Regions from separate parts of the Homo sapiens genome. Here region 2 is linked to region 1. Evidence: promoter capture Hi-C in 16 types of primary human blood cells and fetal thymus (Javierre and others, 2016). All regions are on one chromosome and are shown on one strand. Each heading gives the region's core, a stretch centred on a gene start or on the middle of the fragment in contact. The rest is flanking DNA. Distances are from core to core; before and after follow the strand shown.

Region 1 (7,424 bases), core at 1,528-4,027:
TAGGCCAAGGGCCAGCCAGGTGCCTCTGTGCAGGAGCCACGCTGCTCCCTGTTTCTCTTCCAGAGAGCACTGTATGGGGCTGACCCACCTCTGCAGCCAGGACAGACATGGCCTAGGTCCTGGTCCCTGTGGAGGAGTCTAGCTGTGGTTTTAAGGCAAAACTGGCCATGCGTGGTGGATCATGCCTGTAATCCCAGTACTTTGGGTGGCTCAGGCGGGCAGATCACCTGAGGTCAAGAGTTCGAGACCAGCCTGGCCACCATGGCAAAACCCTGTCTCTACTAAAATTACAAAAAAAAAAAAAAAAAAAATTAGCTGAGTGTGGTGGTGGGCGCCTGTAATCCCAGCTACTCGAGAGGGAGGCTGAGGCAGGAGAATCGCTTGAACCCGGGGGGCAGAGGTTGCAGTGAGCCCAGACCACACCATTGCACTCTGGCCTGGGCAACAAGAGCAGAACTCTGTCTCAAAAAAAAAAAAAAAAAAAAAAAGATAAAACCAAGTTCTGTCTTGTCTGTTTTCTTATGCAAACCTCTCTCACAGCCACTGCCCTCTCTGCATTTCTTGGGTCCTAGCACCCAATTTGGAGACTGCTCTGAGACATGCCCCTTGGTTCCTTTAAGCCCAGAGCTGTGTGCCTCAACTAGATGGGGCCACGGTGATGGTGGGGTGAGCAGGAAGGAAGATGGAAAAACAGACAAGTTAAATTATGTCAAACAACTCATTTATTTTCTCTTGTTTTGCTTTCTTTCCAGTGGCTCACTTGAGGGGTTTTCTTTTTCAGTTTTCCATCTGCTTCTTTGGGGTCCCATGGAGTCAGGCTTCAGGAGAAGACCCCAGCCCCTGCTGCTCTGTTGGGCTCCTCCTGGCTCCTGTGTGCTCAAGGTGCTGGGGTCTCTCCCCAGCCTCCCGTCACACCTCTGCTGGGTTCACTCTCTCTGAGGTGGCAGAGTGAACAGGGCCGACCACTGAAAGGGGAGTAATCCCAGAAAAATGAAGGGAAGAATGCAGGTCTTTAGGAAGCCCCATAGAAGGATGGGCGCCCCCCTCAACCGTGAGGAGCCCTCCCTGTCCCATGGAGGGATGCCCCCCCGCCCCCCGTGAGGAGCCCTCTCCATGGAAACAGGGTTGAGGGCCTGACCTCCCCCTTGGAGCCCCAGAAAACAAAGTGGGGAGGGTAGGGGGAAACTGAGTTGGCGGTGGCGGCACACGGAGGACCAAATCCTCTCAAGCTGGCGTCTGGGCGGGGTATGAGGAGCAGACCAGCCACGCAGCCACGGCGGCCGGAGTCACTCGAGGTCAGAAATGCCCAAGCAGGAAATGAGATGCAACTTGTAACAGACATCAAAGGAAATGGAAAAACATTCTTCTAATATGTCAGGGAGGCTAGAGGAAGGCGGGGGGCGCTGGCCCTTTATTAGGAGACTGGGGAGGGGGCGATAAGAGATGGCACTGGAAGGCTAGAAATAATTAAAATCAAAGCACCAGACACCTGGGGGTGGGAGTGAGTGTCCTCCCTGCAGCCGGGAGACCTAAGGAGCATGCTCAGAGCCCTCCAGGAGTGCCTGGAGCAGCAGTGGCGGGCAAAGGCCTGGCCTCGGGCCCGCCTCTGTCTCAGCCAGCTCCTCCAGGCCCAGGGATGTGGTCCCCATGGGGTGCCTGCTGCAGGCAGCCAGCACAGGGCTGGTGTTGGCAGAGCCCTGGGAACTGAACACAAGCCTTTTCCTGGAAGAGAGTCCCAGTGGGATCGGGGTGCCAGCACGTGCTGGTCCCGAGGGCACAGCGTGGCCAAATGGTCTTGGGACCGAGTCCTGCTCCTTCCACACAGAGAGGCAGTGCCTAACCAAAGGTGCAGAGGGAAGAGGGCAGCCTCAGGGTCCTTGTCTGTAGCCAGGGGCCATTGCCTCCTTTTCTCTACACAGGTCTGGGCCCGATCTCTGGTGCTCACCTGAGGCTGGCCGTTTAAAGTAGGACACTTCTCCTTGCCTCTTGCCTCTTGGGAAGCCTTTGATGGGCTGCACCCTGACGCGACCCCTTTCCAGGAGTCCAGGCGCACCCCTGGTGGTGGCATGGGGAGTTGGTGCTCGGCAGTGGGTCCTGACCACTTCCTGCCCATCACAGCCACGGCTTCTCCCCTCTGAGGAGGGATTGCTTTCTCAGAAGGGCGAGCTGGTGCTGGGCATGCACGCAAGTGTCCAGAAAGCGGGAATCCAGGGCCCTGAGCCTGCGTCCCTGCCGACTCAGCCCCGGCTCTGAAAGGGAAGCAGATGGGAGTGGAGGGGACCCCGTGCCCGGGGCCTGGGACCAGGCCGGCTGGGTGTGGCTTCACCAGGATGCGCCGGGTTTCAGCCTCTGTTCTGGGGGCTGCATAAGTCAACTCGGGGCGAGTCCCAAACTGTGCTGGGCTTCGGTTTATCACAGTGGGGCTACCAGACACCAGGTTACAGCCCTGGGGTCGGGGGGCAGAGGTGGGTTGATTTTCCCAGGCCCTGGGGGAGCAAGGGAGAGCCTGCTGCTCCCCAACACAGCGATTTTCCAGGATCCGACGCTACAAACAGCAGCAACATCCTTGGTGGAAAAGTTCAAGAATCTGGTCCAAAGGCAGCCTGAGTGAGCCAGCCGGGACCAGAACCAGGAGCCGCCCAGTGGAAGGGTAGGTGCTGGATGCCCTGCAGGAGGGACGGTGGTGCTGGGGCCTTGGCCACCGGCCGGGCAGCAGCCTGGAGCGCCGACTCCAGAGGGGAGGCTGGGCGCAGCTCCCGTCGGGGCGTGCGGGCAGCTGCGCCCAGGCGGGAGGGAGCGCGCGGCGGTGGCCCAGGCGGCCCTGCCCGACTGTCGGACCGAGCCTCCCCCTCCCGGCCGCGGCCGCGCTTCCCGCTAGCGGGTCCGCGGGGAGGGGCGGGAAGGCAGCTGGACGCGGCGGCGATTTATGGGCCTTTCAGGCGAGCAGGTGCCTCCTCGGGCCGCCCATTGTCTCGCCGGCCTCACAATGGGGCTGCTGCAGCCGCAGAGCCGGCCCCGCCGCTGCTCGCGGCCTGCACGGGCACGACGGCCCCGGGACGGCGGGAGAGCCTGCGGTCGGCGCATCTGTCCGCGCGTCCGTCGGTGCGTCCGTCGGTGCATCGGTCCTGCTGCCCTCCGCGCGCCTGTCCACGGGAACGGGCCTTGGGCGCCCAGCGTCCATCCCTGCGCGCAGCACGGCTCCGCTGGCCCTCGGGGTCCCCGCGCCCCGACGGTGCGCCCGCGCCCGCTGCGCTCGCTCGTCCTGCGCCCGCTCGTCCTGCGCCGTCGGGCACCCGGCTCCGCCCGGCTGGCACGGCCCGCGCCGCTGCGTCCCGGTCGCACACACAGGGGCCCATTCTTCCTGGCTCCGCGCAACCATATGGCAAATCCGCGTCGACACAGCAGCCCCCGCTCATTCAGGCGCAGAATGTCCCGCAACAGGGAACAATCACGACTCTGTTCGCGTCTATTATGGATGCGAACGGGGCGAGAAAAAAAATCATTTAACTCCAAGAGATAGCCAGCTAATTAGCAACCATATGTGAGCCCGGATTCAAAGCGATGCCGAGGAGTTCATTCTGCGTCGGGCGACTTTATTAGGTATAGAAGACAGATGTCCCGACAGCCCACGCATCACAGAAAATCGTGTCGGGGAGTTCTTGAAATGTCCGGGAGAGCTCTTTAAATATTAAAGACCCAGCCCAGCTGATGGACTGGGCCGGGGTCCTCTGGGATCCCCAGGCTGCAAGAAGAGGACTTAGCAACAGCGACTCTGGCAGACGCTGGCCTGGCTGGCCCAGGGAGGGGGTCCCTCCGCCTCCCTCCAGGGCCCCCTCTGGCTGCCCCTCCGGTCTCAGACTCTTTCACTCAGGTGCTCTGGGGCCCCAAGGAGGAACAAAGGGGCTTCCTGCAGGCACGGTTGGCCCAGTTATGCTTCAGGGTGCCTCCGAGGGTCACGGTGTGGCTCTGTGGGGGCGTCCCAGTCCAGGAGAGGAAGGCTGCCTGGGGAGTGTCTGGCTCGCCCTGCCCCCAGCCCAGCTGAGCTGGACAGACAGTAGGTCTTCCTTCCGAGTTTGCAGAATGAGTGAGTGAGTGAATGAATGAATGAATGGATGAGCCAGTGTGGCAGCCAACCCAACTATGAAAATCCCTCGGGGGGTGGGCGGGAGTGGGGACAATAGTGGAAGGAAAACACTCCCGATTTCTTTACCAAGAAAACAGCCTCTGGCCGTGAGCCTCCGATTCTTTGAGGAAGGAAAAGGAGAAAGCTTGTTAGAGAGAGAGAAAAAAATCTTTCTCTGTTTTCCATGCAATGCAATTATGTTCCAGCTTTTCCTCCTTGTTATTCTTTTAAGCCAAATGTCTGAATAAAAGGATTATTCCCTGCGCCCCCCCAGGACTGACCGTACCGCTGTCAGCAGGCGGGGCGCTGCTGGCGAGATTAACTGCAGCCTGTGGCTTCCGCATTGCTTCTATGAAAATAAGTGAGGTCAGCTGCCATTCAATTGTCGCAGCATATATATTTGAAAATTTAAATATTTGAATCAAAGGAAAAAGGGGGATTTGCATTTCTGCCCAACGCGAGGAGCGCGTTCCGAATGCCGCACAATGGAAACGTTTCAATTGAAATGAATTGTCTCCTCGCAGGAGGATTCTGTAGAAAGGCAGCCAGTGCTTTCTCTTTTGTTTTCTTTTGCTTTTGTTTTGTGTTGTGTGTTTTTCTTTCCTCTTACCCGCTTCAATCCAGGAGGGTGTTTTCTGAAAGTTGGTGACTGACTTTGGTTTCGAGGACATAAAGAAACATGGAAAAACTCCCCAGAAACACTCACATCAGAGGCCTCTCTGGCACAAAAGCAAAATTGAATTGAACATGTGCGGGTGAAAAAATAGATACAGGGGGTGGGGGGACTCCCAATGCCACTTAGAATGGGCTAATCAGCTGACTCCAGCTGGTCTGGACGCGGCTGTTAATGAAGGCCCCGGTGAGTGGGAGGGAGGCCCAGCGCCTCCGGCAGCCCCTGGTTCTTCAGGCAGGCCCTGATTGTCCAGGTCACCAAAGCCGTCAGCCACTCAGAACTAAATGCCACTGTCCCCAATTAGCATTAGGGGTATACAGACGTCAACTCTGCACATGGCTTTTTTTTTGTCTCTGCCTTGGAAAATGGTATACTGGGGGACTCTCTACTTGCACAATGTGCCCCTAGGTGTTGGGATGATGCATCTGAGGGAAACTAGCCAGGAAGAGCCAGCTTCATGCGCTCAGTCAGAGAAGGTCTCTGAGCCAGGGGTACGTGGGGGTTTCCACTGGTCTGGAGGGCTGGGGTGTGGTCTCTCTGTCTGCCCTGGCTGTGCGGGCCTGGACAGATGTAATCCCTCTGTGGATGCTGGGTGTATTCCTGCCTTGGAGCTGCCATCACAAAGCATCACAGACAGGGCTGCTGAGACAGCAGATGTTTATCATCTACCAGTCCTGGAGGCTGGAGTCCACGATCAAGGAGTCGGCAGGGCTGGTTCCTCCTGAGGCCTCTCTCCTTGGCTTGCAGACGTCACCTTCTCCCTGTGTCCTGGGAGGGTCATGCCTCTGAGTGTGCCTGTGTCCTCCTCTCCTTATAAAGACCCCAGTCCTGTTGGATTAGGCCCACACCAATGGCCTCATTTTAACTGTTTTCTGTAAAACCCTGTATCCACATACAGTCATGTGCTGAGGTGCTGGGGGTGAGGGCTTCGACATATGATTTTTGGGGGATACGATTCCTCCCATAACACTGGGCTTCCAGATTGGGCGTCCTGCCCTGTGGCCCGGGATGCCTGCTGGTGAGTGGCAATGTCCAGACCTCTGGGGACCTGGTTCAGCATGAGAGCCAGGTTGAGCTGTGGCACCTGCTCCTGAGCTGGGGGTAGGTGTGGTGACTGAGGCTGATGACAAATGCAGGCTCCAGGGCCTCCTGCATTTCAGAGAGATCTCAAGTGGCATTTGGGGACCCTGGTATTCTCCTCAAAGGATAAGCGTCTAGACACGGATGCTGTCTCACCCCCTCCCGCCCCCCTCACTGAGAAACGAGGCTCCTCTGGAAGCCGGCACCATGCCAGGCTGTGGGGAGAAGGCAGGGGCACCTCCAGGGGCTGGTTCCCTGCCAGGGGCTCTCAGTGCGGTGCTGCCAGCCCCACACCCGTGGTGTCTTCTGCTTATTTTGCTCTCTTGCTTCGGCCTTGGGCTTTCCTTGCCTTTTCTTCTCTCTTCTCTCGTTCCTACTTTTTCTTCTCTTTCCCAAATCTGCCCCTGCCCCCGCCCCCCAAGAAATTCCTAAATCTGAATAAAAGCCCAACAGGGCCCAACAGCGAGACCCACCCCCCAGCTCTGCAGGATGACCTGGGCCCAGCCCTGACGTCTGCTCTCGCACCCGCTGCTCTGTTGCTGTGCAACCTAGGCAGGTTAGTTGACCTCTCTGAGCCTTGGCCAGCCTGCCCAGTGGCAGACACAATGCTGAAGTGTCTCTTGGGCAGAGTGAGAAGGAGCTAATGAAAATGGCTGAGAAAACAGTCTAGGCATTTAAAAAATGTCACGTAATTGCAAAATAATAACGATAACAACAATATACTTTGGAATTTTGCTGGAACTGAGAGCAGGCCCGAGTGGAATTTGGCACTGAGTGGGTCTGGCCTGGCTTCCATCCAAGGGGGTTTAGTTACTGAGGTGCCCCCAGGACTCCATTCTGAGGCAGCCCCTCTCGTAAGATGGTCCTGACAGTGGACTCTGGCATGGGCTGTGGCTGGGGTCCCTCATCGGCTGGGGCCAGTTCCAGGCATTATTGCTACAGCACCCAGGTCACAGGGCTGGCAAGCCAGTGGGGCTTTTTATTTCTTTTGATTTCCAAATTGAAAATAGCCATATATTTCCCTTGGTTGTAGAAATAGCAGCATATGCTCATTGTAAAAAAAAAAAATGCAAACAATATGGGAATGTATAAAAAAGACAGTAAAAATTCCCCCAGATAGATGCTGCTATCCTGAGATAAGCGCAGATGGCACTTTGGGGCTCTATATCATTTTACATCTATGGGACTCACATTTACTTTTTAAGTCCAAAGCACATATTTTATTTTAATTAAAAAATATTTTTTGAGATAGGATCTTATTCTGTCACCCAGGTTGGAGTGCAGTGGCACGATCATGGCTCACTGCAGCTTCCAACGCCTGGGCTCAAGCCCTCCACCCACCTCAGCCTCCCGAGTGGCTGAGACCATAGGTGTGTGCCACCATGCCCAGCTAATCTTTAATTTTTTTTTTTTTTTGTAGAGACAGGGTCTCCCTATGTTGTCCAGGCTGGTCTCCAATTCTTGGGCTCAAGTGATCCTCCTGCCTCGGCCTCTCAAAGTGCTGGGATTATAGGCATCTGGCATAAAGGTATATTTTTAATAGAGACA
Region 2 (6,420 bases), core at 3,370-5,869, 630 kb after region 1:
ACACACGTCCCGGATGTGGGGCTTCCCTTTAGCTAAACAGCTCTTCATTGAGCCATTAGTTGTCAACACTTAACAGCTGGGGGATAGGCACACGGTCCAGATAAAAGGAGTTGGGGAGGACACCAGTAGCACCCATGACCCAACACGCCTTACTCCACCCCCACCCCCCGCACAGCCCACCTGTGTAGGAGGTTTGCTCCCCTGAGGAGAGCTTCTCCAGGATCAAATTGGTCCCAACACCAGGGGAAATTGACACTAACAGGCTGAGTGGGATGAACGCCAGTGCCTACTCCTGCCATTGCCATTGCCATTTTCATTGCCTGGGGCCCTGACTGATAGCCACCGCCCCTTCCTCCTCCATCCGTGTCAGATAGCCGGGACCTTGAGCAGCCTGTGGTCACCATGGCCTTATCATGCTCACACTGTGGCGCTTGCTACTTGCGGGAAGATCTGTGCATGGCAGCACCAAGAGATGCCCCTGGTGGGTCACCTGCCCGCCCCCATTGATGACTGTATTCATACCTTCTCATGATGCTCCCAGCCAGTTACCCCTGCCAGTATGGGAACTTCATTCTCTCTGCCAGATTGTTGATACCAGGAGCCCGAAGTGACCAGGTGGAAGCTGTCTTAATAGCGTCTTCCGGTGGAAGCGTCCCGCTCTGGGAATGGCCCTGTAGAGCCTAAAACTGCTAGAAATAGAACCACTGATTTGGTTCGCTTCTCTCCCTACAAGTGCACGACCAGGTCCTGCACTCAAAGCTCGGCCCCCTGGGAGGGTTACCCCATCGCCACCATCACCACCACCTGAGTGGGCTGCAGTGCAGGAGCAGTCCTTTGGGGGCTCACTAACGTTTCTAGCTAACCTGCCAATGAGTGAAGCTCAGGCCCCTTCCTTCTCCATCGGCTGGTCAGAGGGACCTCTGCAGGAGGCCACAGGTGTGGACTGAAGAAGAGGTGTCAGTGCAACACTGGTAGATGACGTGGGGGTTCCGATCCCCGGATTATGTCGCTTTCTTTTGCCCTCTGCTTGTTCGCAGTCCCAGGAGGTGTCTTTTCCCATGTATACTGGATGCTGCTGGGCTTGCCTGACCTTCTGATTTGGTGGGTTTAACAGATCCTAGCTCAAGATGGGCATCTCTGACCACATGGTCACTTAACGTCCATGACCAGAAACTCTTTCTCTAGAGGTTCCCACAGGAGAGCAGGAACCTCTTTCTGAATGGTATCGTTCTCTGCACGGCCTTCTTCCAGAGCCCAAGGAGTCTGGGCCATGACTCTTCTTTGAAGTTCTCCAGGGGCTCTGTGTGTGTGGTGTCTTTCTCCATTGCAAATACCTCTTGTACCATGGGATTTGCCAGATTTTATGGCAATAACTTCATGGTAATAAGATCATGATGTAGCAGGCCTCTAAAGCTTCGTGGAATTTATCTCCCAGCCTGGCTCGTGTGCCTTACTTGGGGCGTCCAGAGTACTTTCCCCTGCTTGCTCGTCAGATCCAGTTAACAGACTGCCATCAGTATAGTGAACTAACGTGATAATCTGTGGAATGTCCAGAGGGCCTTTTCCCTTTGGACTATACTGTGACAAAGAGCAGAAGAATTAACATATCCCTGGGGCAAAACTGTGACTGTGTACTGTTGTCCCTCCTGTGCGAATGCAAATTGCTTCTCACACTCTCTCCTGATGAGATGGAAGAGAATTCATTCACAGAATCCGTAGCTACTGATACCGGGTACCAGGGGCAGTGTTAATTTAATCTTAGATTAAATGAATCTAATTTAATCTAAGATTAAACGAAGATACCACATCTGGCCTGGCAGCCCATTTGGTGTTGCTACTTGGTTGAGTTTGAGGTCTGCAATCATCTATTCTGATTCAGCCAGTCTGCAGAGAGGCCAGAGAGGGGAAATCACGAGAGAGATGGTGGGGGTTACTACCTAGGCCTTCTTTAACTCTTTGAAGGTGGCATCAATCTCAGCCATTTCCCCTGGGAAGTTATAGGTTTATTGGGGGCTAACTGACATACAATAAACTACACATATTTAAAATATAGAGGTTTTTTTTTGTTTTTTTTTTTTTTTTTTTTTTTTTTTTTTTTTAGATAGGTCTCTCTCTGTTGCCCAGGCTAGAGTGCAGTGGTGCAATCTCGGCTCAATGCAACCTCTGCATCTAGGGTTCAAGCAATTATCCTGCCTCAGCCTCCTGAGTAGCTGGGACTATAGGTGCGTGCCACCACGCCCGGCTAAGTTTTTTGTATTTTTAATAGAGATGAGGTTTCACCACGTTGGCCAGGCAGGTCTGGAACCCCTGACCTCAGGTGATCCACCTGCCTCAGCCTCCCAAAGTGCTGGGATTACAGGCGTGAGCTACCACACTGGGCCAAAATGCAGAGTTTTATGAATTTTGACATATGTGTACAACAGTGAGACCATCATCACCGTCAACAATTTCTTGTAAGTTTTAAATTCGTAATTAAATTACAACTGTGTAATCCCTTCCTCCCACCCCTCCTCCCCAGCCTTAGGTAACCACTGATCCGCCTTCTATCAGGTATTCTTTGCATTCTACGGTGTTATGTCAATGGACACATACAGGATGTATTCTTTTGTCTGGCTTATCTCATGCCATATACTTATTTTGAGATTCATTGATATTGTTGCAGGTATCAATCGTTCATTTATTTTTATTGATAAATAACATGAATGGGTATATTTGCTTATACCTTCACTTGTTAGGCGTCACTTGGATTGTTTCTGGTTTGGGCTATCTATGATCCAATGCTATAAACATTCATGAACAAGTCTTTGTGGAGACAAATGCTTTCATTTTTCTTGAATAAATACCTAGGAGTGGAATGGATGGATCATATGGCCGGCCGGTGTGTGTTTCACCTTTTAAGAATCTACCAAATCATTTTTTAAAGGGGTTGTACCATTAATCTTCCCACTCACAGTGCATGAGAATTACAGTTTCTCCTACCTTTGCCAAAAGTTGGTATGATCAGTTTTAAAGCAAGAAAATTTAACCATTCTAATAGGTGTGTAGCGATATCTCATTACGATTTTTAATTTTCATTTTCCTAATGATTAATGATGTTGAGCATGTTTTCATGACCTTATTTATTATCCATATATCTTCTTTGGTCAAGTGTGTAGGAGATATCTGTATATCTTTTTTGCTCATTTTTATAGGGTTGTTTTCTTACTATTCATTTTTGAAAATACACAGAGAATATGCAATGAATATTCTGGATATAAGTCCTTCATCGTAATATGATTTGTGAATATTTCCTATCAGCTGATGGCTTGCTTTCTTTATTCTCTTATGACTGCCTTTCAAAAGAGTGGAATTTTTAAATTTTGATGACATTCCATTTAGCCACCTTTCTTTTATGAATTGTGCCTTTGCCGTCATATCCTTTCTGTGACTAATCTAAGGTCACAAAGATTTTCCACCATGTTTTCATCTAACAGTTTCACAGTTTTACATTTATATTAGGTTACTAATTCATTTTACATTAATGAATTTGAATACAGCTTGAGGAATTGGTCAAAGTTATTTTGTCTTTTTGCAGGTGGATATCCAATTGTTCCAGCATCATTGGTTGAAAAGATACAATTTCTCTATTAAACTGACTTTGCACCTTTGTCAAACTAGCTGTCCTCATGTGTGAGTCTATTTCTTGGCTATCTGATCTGTTCCACTGATTTACTTCTCTATCATTATGCCAGTAGAACACTGTCTTAATTATTATAATTTTATAACCTTGAAATCAGATACAGTAAGTCCTCTAAGTATGTTGTTCTGTTTCAAAGATGTTTTGGTTACTGTAGGTCCTTTGGATTTCCATAGGAATTTTAAAATCAGTTTGTCAGTTTCTACAGAAAGCTTGCTGGGGTGCTGATTGAGATTACGTTGAATCTATAGATGAATTTGTCAGAAACTGACATCCTGATAATAATTCTGAGTCTTTCAATCTAGGACTCAGTATATTTCTTTATTTATTTGGGTATTACTTGTTTTTTCTCAGGAATGTTTTATAGTTTTCAGTACACCAGACTTGTACATATTTTTTTAGATTTCTCTCGCAGTATTTTGCATTTTTATGCTAGTAAAATTTCAATGTCTGATTGTTCTTTGTGTGTTTCATGTAGATTCTGTTTGACCATCTACATAGGCAATCATTTCTTGTATAAATTAAGACAGTTTTTCTTCTTCCATTCCAATCTGGGTGTATTTGTTTCTTTTTATTTTCTTATTACACTGGGTAGAGCAGATATCTTCACCTTGTTTCCCATCTCAGGAAGAAAGCTTTCAATCGTTTACCATTAAATATGTTAGCTGTAAGTTTTTCATAGATACTCCTTATCAGGTTGAAGAAATTCCCTTTTATTCCTAATTTGCTGAGAGTTTTTATCAGGAAAGGATATTGTATATTGTTTGTTAGATACTTTTTCTTAGCATTGCGGTGGTTGATTTTATGTATCAAATTGGTTGGACTACTGTGCCTAGATGTCTGGTCAAATATTATTCTAGATGCTTCAGCTAAGGTAACTTTTGGATGAGATTAATGTTAAATTGGTGAACTCCGAGTAGGGCAGATTAACCTCCACAATGTGCAGGGTCCTTGTCTTAGTTCATTTTGTGTTGCTATAAAGAAATACCTGAGACTGGAGATCTATACAGAAAAAAGATTTATTTGGCTCATGATTCTTATGGCCGAAAATTTCAAGATTGGGCATCTGCATCATGGTGAGAGAGAAAGCAAGAGCGAGCAAAGAAGGGGAGATGCCAGGCTCTTTTAATAAACAGCAACCAGTAAAGAACTGACTCATCCTTGAGGGAGGATCTATTCAGGAGGGATCTGGCCTCATCACCAAAACACCTCCCATTAGGCCTCACCTCTAACATCGGGGATCAAGCTTCAGTATGAAGTTTGGAGGGGACAAACATCTAAACCAGGGGTGTCCAATCTTTTGGCTTTCCTGGGCCACACTGGGAAAAGAAGAATTGTCTTGGGCTACACATAAAATATACTAACACGAATGATAGCTGATGAGCTAAAAAAAATTTTGCAAAAAAGTCTCATGTTTTAAGAAAGTTTACTAATTTGTGTTGGGCTGCATTGAAAGCAGTGCCTGGCTGCATGTGGCCCATGGGCCACAGGTTGGACAAGCTTGAACCATAGTCCTCATCTAAGCAGTTGACGAAGGCCTTAACAAAACAAAGATTGACTTTCTCTAAGCCAGAAGGAATTCTGCCAGCAGACTGCTTTTGGATTTGGGCTGCAGCTTTTTCCTGGGGCTCCAGTCTGCCACTTACCCTGCCGATTTTGGATTTTCTCTCTCTTTTTCTCTCTCTCTGTGTGTCTCTCTCTCTCCACACACACACACACACACACACACACACACGCACACACCCCTGTTGGTTCTGTTTCTCTGGAGAACCCTAACCAGTGCACATATGTATATTGATAATAATATGCTTTTCCTTTTCTAGTTTCATTAATATGAAAATTTATATTGATTGATTTTTGAGTGTTAAACCAACCTTGTATTCTGAAACCACACTTGATCATGAGATATTATCCTTTTTACATATTTTCAGGCTTGATTTGATAAAATTTTGTTTAGAATTCTTGCATCTATTTTTATGACAGGTTTTAGCCTTAGTTTTCTCTTCTTGTAATGTCTTTGCCTACTTTTGGTATCAGGGTAATAATCCTGGTCTCATAGAAATGGTGAAGGAGTATTCCCTCTTCTTTAATTTTTAGAAAGAGTGTTTCTAGAATTGGTATCCTTTTTCTTTAAATGTTTGGTAAAATTTACCAGTGATGCTGTGATGTTTTCTTTGTGAATAGAATTTTTACTAGAAATTTAATTTGTGTTTGTGAGTGTATTTAGGTTATCTATTTTTTCTTGTATGAGTTTTGGTAATTTCAGTCTTTCATTGAATTTGTTCATTTTGTTTAAGATGTCAATTTATCAGAATAAAGTTATTTGTAATAGCCCGTATTATCCTTTGGATATCTGTAGAATCTGTAAATGATGTCATCTCTCTTACTTCCTAATACTGGCAGTTTCTGTCTTTTTTTTCCTGATTAATCTTGGTAGAAGTTCAGCAATTTGATTGATTTTCTCAAAAAGAATCCATTTTTGGTTTATTGATTTTTTTCTCATTTTTCCCTGTGCTTTGTTTCCTTGATTTACTTCTCGATTTTTATTGTTTCCTTCTTTCTGTTAACTTTGAATTTAATTTTGAATTGTAATTCAATTTCTTTTTGGTCAGAGAGCATACTTTGTGTTGCTTGAATCCTTTTGAAATTACTGAGACTTGTTTTATGGCCCATAGTAAGATCTGTCTCAGTAAATGCTCCTTGTGCACTTGAGAAGATTATGTATTGTGTTGTTATCAGGTGGA

Evidence for each region. The method cuts DNA at HindIII sites, captures the fragments that hold promoters and counts their contacts. A CHiCAGO score of 5 or more calls a contact.
Region 2: a contact is called between a fragment that was not itself captured here and the fragment with the promoter of KCNQ1DN in region 1, in 1 of 17 cell types (M1 macrophages). The highest score is 5.5, in M1 macrophages.

The regions. Positions count from the first base shown.
Region 1 is chr11:2,865,386-2,872,809 of GRCh38, reverse strand. It overlaps KCNQ1DN (KCNQ1 downstream neighbor), which reads right to left and starts at 2,777. Exons shown (of 2, transcript NR_024627.1): 1 at 1,946-2,777; 2 at 705-965. RefSeq lists an enhancer at 3,378-3,886 and a cis regulatory region at 3,886-5,654. The HindIII fragment of the contact is 4,919 bases long and covers 1-4,270 here.
Region 2 is chr11:2,242,924-2,249,343 of GRCh38, reverse strand. No RefSeq gene overlaps it. Among named protein-coding and RNA genes, the nearest start is that of ASCL2, 24 kb to the left of the region's middle. The HindIII fragment of the contact is 611 bases long and covers 4,314-4,924 here.